Regions from separate parts of the Homo sapiens genome. Here region 2 is linked to region 1. The links are contacts of gene promoters, found by promoter capture Hi-C in blood cells and fetal thymus (Javierre and others, 2016). All regions are on one chromosome and are shown on one strand. Each heading gives the region's core, a stretch centred on a gene start or on the middle of the fragment in contact. The rest is flanking DNA. Distances are from core to core; before and after follow the strand shown.

What was found. The method cuts DNA at HindIII sites, captures the fragments that hold promoters and counts their contacts. A CHiCAGO score of 5 or more calls a contact.
Region 2: a fragment that was not itself captured here is called in contact with the fragment with the promoter of BCL9 in region 1 in 2 of 17 cell types (fetal thymus and naive CD4 T cells); the score reaches 5.3 in fetal thymus.

What each region holds. Positions count from the first base shown.
Region 1 is chr1:147,539,815-147,544,058 of GRCh38, reverse strand. It overlaps BCL9 (BCL9 transcription coactivator), which reads right to left and starts at 2,558. Exons shown (of 10, transcript NM_004326.4): 1 at 2,385-2,558. RefSeq lists enhancers at 2,513-2,572, 2,133-2,887, 2,606-2,900. The HindIII fragment of the contact is 5,169 bases long and covers 1-2,649 here.
Region 2 is chr1:147,681,490-147,685,733 of GRCh38, reverse strand. No RefSeq gene overlaps it. Among named protein-coding and RNA genes, the nearest start is that of ACP6, 13 kb to the right of the region's middle. The HindIII fragment of the contact is 577 bases long and covers 2,178-2,754 here.

The sequences.
Region 1 (4,244 bases), core at 1,309-3,808:
AGTAAAGAGCCCCAAAATATAAGTTGAATGAACAAATGAATACATGAATGAATTTATGCAAATTCATGTTGTGGACCCATGTTTGCATATTTGTACCATTTGATGACATGAGCAGGGCAGAGTGTGCTGCTGTAATCCAGCACAGCAAGCAGAACTACAAAAGGTGCCTCTCTTTGGTTGGCCAAGTGCTGGAGTTTGTAAAATCAAATGTGGGTGTGAGGTAAGGGTACCCGGCATGAAGACCCTTGGGGTACTCTGAACCCCAGGGTGTGGTCTAGATGTTACCACAGCTTTGTTGCACCCGCCTCAGATCAGTGCTTATCTCTCTTGGACCTTAACATCCTCATCTATAACATGATGGAATAACACTTCTTTTTCCTTGCAGTTCTTAAATTCTAACATTTTAGGAAGATATCTGGACCCTGAAATCTTGTCAGGAACAACCATGGTAAGATCTCTGACTATAAAGTAGAAAACAACTAAGTTTTCAGATATATATATGCATAAAATACAGCTTTATTTTAATAAAACCTTAAATGTAGGGGGACCTTCTTGCCAGATCCAGGCCAACTAATGGCTTTCCTTCAGCTTTTCCCATACTCAGAAGTCAGGTTTCCAGGCCTCTGTGAAAAGCACATAAATATTCTCAGCCAGGGCTGGCCCTTTGCTTCAATCTCCAGCTATCACAGGGAGTCAGTCTGATAAACATTTGCAGTTAGAATGGAAGGAGGCACAGCCTCCTAGACTTTTACAGATTTTTTTGGACAAGTAGCAGAGTCACAGAAAACCTAGAATTAGGTAAGAAAGCAGAACTCCTCCAGAGAATTCAGAGAGAGCTACAACTGAGAGCCTTTAAACAATCAATGTGTAGGAACAGAAGAAAGGAAATCCACAATTCAAGAAAATAAGCAGACATTTTTTTTCCTCAAAAAAAATTGTTAAGATGAATGTTAGGCACTGATTTTAGCCCTCTGTTCCATCCCTCAAGATGTCACTTGAAAAAGCAAAAGGTTTTATCCACAAAACCACCGGCGAGTAAACAGCCTTCACATTCTTAGCCTCGTACACACACAGTAAGATATTTACTCTCTGATAAACAGCAATTGTAAATAAATCTCATTTAATCTCTAAAAGCCACAATAAAAATCTTTAACCTCCAAGGTAGAGTTTACAGATGCGTCTGCATGCCCTGCCAGCCCCAGAAAACACAAGGTCTTGAATAAACTACTATACCAGGAGGCACATTTTCTCGCTCAAGCATCTTACATTGACCTTCTTTAAAACAAAAATACGTACAAGGAGGAGGAAAGGGGAAAACCCAACCCCTCCCACCCCATTCTCTGTACAAATCGGCCAATAAATCTAACGAAAAGACACAAGAGAAAAAGGACAGAAGCCAACAGGTGGAACAAGGCTTTTTGTTTCCTTAGAAATGCTCAGACACTTGATCTGTGCTCCTCAGTCTATTTGTCTCAGGGTGTCTTTAATGATGTTTTTATTACCCTGATGATGATGATCAAGAATAATGATAACACTTCTACTCTGTGATTCCACAGCATCTCTAGCTGACGATTTCTCCACGCGTTTCAGACACAGTGATCTGTTCTGTTTCGCTCAATCCCAGGGAGGCATACAGCATCCCTGATCAGCAACCTTGATTTTACAGATGGGGAAATTGAGGCACGGGGCACCCCACAACTCAACAGTCTCTACGACCAGAGGAATCCCTGAGACTGGAAAAGTTTCTGGATCGTCTTGTGGCAGAGTTCTCTTGCTCTCCCTTCTTGCCTGCCATGCCGCTCCTCCTCGGAGAGTCTGGGCTGGGGTGGTAAGGATCGGGGTGCCTCCCCTTCACAGCGAGGCACGCCAGGGCAGTGTGTGGGAAGTCCACACGCACACACAGACCCACGGGCACACTGGCACACACAAAGCTCGATGCAATCTCTGCAGTCACTCGGCGGAGCCCTGGCCGGCCCTTGCTCAGCCTGAGAATGCACAGCTCGGAGCCTGCAAGGCCTCCCTGGGCTCTGGGCTGGGGTTTCCCTGAACCAAGGCTCTGCCCTTCTCTCCCTCTTTTCCAGGCTTCCCTCTCTCGCGCTCCCTCTCTCTCTCTCTTTTCCCTCCCACCCTCACACCCTCCTCCCAGCCCTCTCCATCCACCCCTTCTCCCCCACCAACCCAGAGGCACAGATCGTGTTACTGGGGTTCCCTCGAAAGAGGGGCCATCCCCAGTCCTGGATGCCTTGAAAGACTTCCAGGGGCAACGCAGGAGCTCCAATCGCAGGACCCCAGCGCTCCTCCAGAGCAGCGCAGGAATGAGACCCCCACTTCCAGGCACAGGCGAACAAGCCTGCCACCGAAGAAGGAATTGTTAGGGCTCTTACCTTTTTTATGAGGAGAAATTCTGGAGAATCATTTCAGAAACTGAGGGGGGAAAGTGAATGAAGACAAAAAAGACCCTTTTCCCGCAATCCCTGGCCTCCTGGTATCAAGACACCAGGACAACATCAAAGCAACTTAGGGGGAACACTTTAGGGGCCTATTGTCTGCTCTGGTCTGATCTGTTTTTCTTCTGACTCCCCCTCTTGCTGCGGTGACACTTGGTACGGCCCAGGCATTCATGCCAAGTAGCTTTCACACATGGAAGCTTGTCTCAAGCAATTGCTGACAAGCCACAAACAAGACATTCTCCCTCCCTTCTCTGCGCCCCCCCACTCCTCCCCCCTCCACCTTTTCCTCCTCCCCTCTTGTCTCCCCTCCTCCTTTCTTCTGAATGCAAACTAAAACTCTCCAGTGACAGGCAGGCTCGCAGGCTTGGCCTAGCTGCGCACGCAGGCACACACACACACACACACACACACACACACACACACACACACACTCTCTCTCTCTCTCTCTCTCTCTCTCTCTCTCTCTCTCTCTCTCTCTCTCTCTCTCTCCTCTCTCTCTCTCTCTCTCTTCTCTCTCTCTCTCTTCTCTCTCTCTCTCAAGCAGCTCAGCTAGTTGCTGCTGCACTGGTGGAGTTAAGAGACAGGAAAAAGCCCAGGCTGAGTTGGGGGCAGGGAGAAAAAGAGAGGGAGAGCGAGAGCAGAGAGCCGCCTCCTGTGTCCTAGTAAAATGGCAGAAGAGAGGTGAGTCCTTTGGAAGAAAAGCAGTGGCCACACACGTGTGCACACATACACAGACTCAGGCCATCTCAGCGCCAGGAAAAGTGAAATAAATGACCCGACAAAGGAAAAAGCAAAGTCCCATTAGCTGGAGATTGGGGGAGTAGGGAGATAAGAGGGTGAGTGGCCCCAGGACTGGGGTTTCTGTTGAGTGGTTAGGTGATTTTTCTTCTTTACAATAGAGAAAAATTTGTTTCCTAAGGATCTAGCCTTCTTTCACTGCATAATTGAGCATGGACTTGAGCTACTAGTTAAAATAAAATCATGAAATGTGTAAATGTGTGAGTAAACTTAACTGTAGGTTCAACTTGTACCCAAGATATTTTTAAAGTGAAGCTTTTTTTATTTTTTTTTATTTTTTATTTTAGCAGAAACCCTAGAGAGCAGTAGCAAGGAGAGTAGTAACAAGTAGTGTAAACTAGGAGAGCTGTGAAGTGTGATGCTAAAGTTACTGATTGCCAGGCTGCTGGAATTTATGGAGGGTGGGCCTGAGAGTTGGAGGAGGGGAGGGTGAGTGTGCTGTTTTCTAGGAATAAGAGGGGAATGAGGTAGGATAATGAATATGGCAAGAAACAAGCAGGAATTTGATTGGTGTGGAGGGAGGAGGTGGGGGCTGTAAAGGAGTGGAGAGAGAGAGAGAGAGAGAGAGAGAGAGAGAGAAACAACACTGCATTAAAAAAAGAAGAAAAATGGAAGCCCAGAAAGATTGAAACATGCAGAGTAAATGAGATGGTAAAAGAAGGCATAAAATGTGAGCAAAAAGGAGCACAAAGGATGTGCAAATTTGCAGATGGCATGAAATCAGGAGGGCCAATTGAGATCAGGAAGAAGAATGACAGGATGATTATATGACATTCATATTTTTAGATACTGTGGACTCACAGACCTAACAAGGTCTCCTCTGCCTAGGCCAGAAGAGTTATCCCTATGCAACAGGATCTGAATGGAAGCTTAGCTCCTAACTGCTGCTGAATCAGTTCTGTACTTTTTCATGAAGATTGTTTAGACTCTATTCCTCAGAATCTTCCTTTACAAAATGGAAATTATGAGAACACACATCACTCATTCCTTCATAGG
Region 2 (4,244 bases), core at 1,217-3,716, 140 kb before region 1:
ATCAAGATGTCAGCAGACTTGATGTCTGGTAAGAACTTGCTCTGCTTTAAAGATGGTGCCTTTTGTCACATTCTCATATGGCAGAAGGGGCAAACATGATCCCTTCATCTCTTTTATAAGGGCACTACTTCCACTCACAAGAGCAGAGCCCTCATGACTTAACCACGTCCCCAAAGGCCCTACCTCTTAATACTATCACATTGGGATTACATTTAAAGGTATAAATTTTCAGGGAAGCCAACATTCAGACCATAGCACCCTTCTATTTAATTTTTTGGACGAGTTTGAAAAGGATTGTTATTAGTTCTTCTATAAATGTTAAGTAAAATTCAGCAATGAAGCCATCAGGTTTTGGGCTTTTCTTTAATGGAAGACTTTTTATTACTGATTCAATCTCCTTACTCATTATTCTGTTCAGATTTTCTATTTCCTCAAGATTTAGTCTTAATAGGTTATATATGTCCAATAATTATCAATTTTTTCTAGGTTATACCATTTGTAGGCATATAATTGCACATAGCAGTCTCTTATGATACTGTGTATTTCTATGGTATAATATCAATTGTAATGTCTCCTCTTTTATTCCTAATTCTATTTATTTGAGTCTTTTTATCTTAGCTAGTCTAGCTAATGGTTTGTTAGTTTCTTTTCTGTTTGCAAAAAACCAGCTCTTAGTTTATCTTTTCCATTGTTTTCTAGTCTCTATTTCATTTATTTCTGATCTGATCATTTCCTTCCTTTTACTAATTTTGGGATTGGTTTATTCTTTTTCTTTGTAGTTCCTTGAGGTGTAACATTAGGTTATGTATTTCTTCTTTTTTGATGTAGGCATTTATTGCCATAAAAGTCCCTCTTTGAACTGCTTTTGCTGTATCTATAAATTTTGGTATATTGCATGTCCATTTTCATTTGTCTCGAGATATTTTTCAATTTCTATTTTAATTTCTTCTTTGACCAATTGGTTATTTAGAAGCATGTTGCTTAATTTCCACATATTTGTGAATTTTCTGAAATTTCTTCTCTTACTGATTTCTAGTTTCATACCATTGTCATTGGAAAAGCTACTTGATATGCTTCTATCCTCTTAAATTTGCTAAGACATGTTTTATAGCCAAACATATGATCTATCCTGGAGAATATTGCAATGCACTTGAGAAGAATGTGTGTTCTGCTGCTATTGTACGGAATATTCTATAAACATCTATTAGGTCCATTTGGTCTAAAGTGTAGTTCAAGTTCAATGTTTCCTTATTGATTTTCTGCCTGGATGATCTATCCATTGTTGAAAGTAGGGTATTTAAGTCCCCTGCTATTACTGTATTGCAATCCATCTCTCTCTTCAGATTTATTAATATATTTGCCTTATATATTTAGGTGCTCCAATGTTGGAACATACATATTTACAATTGTTACATATTTGATGACCGTTTTATTATTGTATATTGACTTTCATTGTCTCCTTTTACAGCTTTTGACTTAAAGTCTATTTTATCTGATATAAGTATAGCTACTCTCACTCTCTTTTGGCTTCCATTCGCATGGAATATTTTTTTCCATCCCTTTACTTTCAATTCATGTGTGTCCTTACAGGTGAAGTGAGTTTCTTGTAGGGTGTGTATATTTGGTCTTCTTTTCTTATCCATTCAGCCACTCTATGTCTTTTGATTGGGTAATTTACTCCATTTACATTCAAGGTAATTAACGATAGGTAAAAACTTACTACTTCCATTTTATTAATTGTTTTCTGGTTGTTTTATAGATCCTTTGTTTCTTTTTTCTCCCTTGATGTCTTCTTTTGTGATTAGATGATTTTCTCCAATGGTATGCTTTGATTCCTTTTTATCTTTTATGTATCTACTATAATTTTTTGCTTTGTGGCTACCAAGAGGCTTACATAAAACATCTTATAGTCATAACAGGCAATTTTAAGCTAATAAGAAGTTAATGTTAACTACATAAAATAACTACACTTTTACTTTATCCACTCCCACATTCTGTTTTTGAGGTCACAATTTACATTTTTTATACTGTATATCCCTTAAAAATTATTGTGACTATTATTATTTTTAATACTTGTTTTTTAACATTCATACTAAAGATATAAGTGATTTACATACCACCATCACAGTTTTATAGTGTTCTGAATTTGACTGTGTACTTAATTTTACCAGTAAGCTTTATTCTTTCATATGTTGTGTTACTATTAATAATTAGCATCCTTTTTGCTCTGCATGAAGAATTCCCTTTAGCATTTCCTGTAAGACAGATCATGTGGAATGAACTCACTCAGCTTTTGTTTACCTGGAAAAGTTTTCATCATTCTTTTATTTCTGAAGGACAGCTTTGCTGGGTATAGTATTTTTGGTTGATAGGGTTTTTTTTTCCCTTCAGCACTTTTAATATATTATCCCAATATTTCTTGGCCTGCAGTGTTTCTGCTGAGGAATCCACTGATAGACTTTTAGGAATTCCTTTATAGATGATTTGCTTCTTTCCTCTTCCTGTTTTCAGTGTCTTCTTTTTATTTTTGATTTTTGACAGTTTGATTGTAATATGTCTTGCAGTCTTGTTTGGCTTGAGTCTAATCAGAGTCCTTTGACCTTCCTGTACCTGGATATTTCTTTCTCAGATTTAATTTATTTTCTGTTATTATTTCTTTAAATAAACATAAATTTCTCTCTCTCTTTCTTCTACTTTAACTCCTATAACTTGAACATTTGCTTTTTTGATACTGTTCCATAAATCCCATAAGCTTTCATCATTCCTTTTCATTCTTTTTTCCTTTTTCTCTTCTTGTTGCATATTTTCAAATAATTGTCTTTGAGTTTGGAGGTTCTTTCTTCTGTTTATCAATTCTGCTGTCAATGCTCTCTATTGCATTTTATAATTTAATTCATTGTATTTTTCAGCTCCAGAATTTGGTTACTTTTTCATAATTTCAATCTCTGTTAAATTTCTTGTTTTGGTCATTTATTGTTTTCTTGATTTCAATGAATTATTTCTCTGTATTTTATTGAAGTTTGCTATACAACTATTATTTTGAATTATTTATCAGGCAGTTTATATATCTCCATTTCTTTAGTGTCAGTTACTCATGTTTTATTTTCTTCCATTGGTGATGACATGTTTCTCTGATTATTCTTGATCTTTGTGGCCATTTGCTGGTGTCTGCTTATTTTAAGAAGTGGAGACTTATTCCAGTCTTTGCAAACTAGGTTTGTTTGGGAAATCCTTCACCAGTCAGCATGTCCAGAGATTCTGGGCAGTCCATCTAGCGTGGCCTGTTGGCGTACTTGCTGCTGGTGTCCTTGGGTGAGTGGGCCTTGTGCCTGGGTTCGCAAGTGGGAAGACCTGGTGCCTGGGTTCATAAGATTGAGCTTGGATCCTGGATCCACTGAGGTAGATGTATTGATTGGGTCTGCAGAGGTGAGCCTGGAGCCTAGGTCCAAGGGCAGATCTAGAGCCTATATCCATTGGGGGTGGCCTGAAGCCTGGTTCCATAGTAGCTGATCTGAAACTAGGGTGAGCCTTAAGCCTGAGTCTGTAGGGGCTGGCTAGGCCATGGAATGGGTCGGAGACTGGGTCCACTAGGATAAGCCCAGAGCCTGTGTCCATGGGGACTGACCTGACACTGGGGTAGACCTGTATCCTGAGTTCATGGAGTTTTGGGTCTATGGGGGCTGGCCTAGAACCTGGGTATTTAGGAGTAGTCCTGGAACCTAGGTCCATGAGGGTCAGCTTAGCACTGAGGTCAGCTGGGACAAATCTGGCCCTTACATCTGCTGGAACATGGGACTGCAGGGGCCAGCCTGGAGTGTGGGGCCACAGGGATCAGCCTGGCACTAGGCAGGACTGAAACCTGTGTCTGTGGTATCAGCCTTGTGCCTGAGATGTACTGACCTGGCACTGAGATGGGCCTAAGGCATCAGGCTGTGTGGGCTGATGTGGCTTTGGGCTGACCTTAAACTAGCGCGGGCCTGTAGCTTGGAGCTGCAGGAGCTAGCCTTATCCTGGGCAGGCCTGGAACCTATATCTGCAGGCCAGCCTGAAGGCTGAGTGCTGGCCTGATGATTAGGGCTGTAGGGGTTGGCCTAGTTCTGAGATAGGCATGAAGCCTGATGCTATGGGGCCCAGCCTGATGCTGGGTTGGGGGGCATCCAGAGCCTGAGACCACTGGGACTGGTCTGACCCTGGAGTAAACCTGAAGATGGAATCTTCAGGGTAGGCCTGGAGCCTGATCTGTG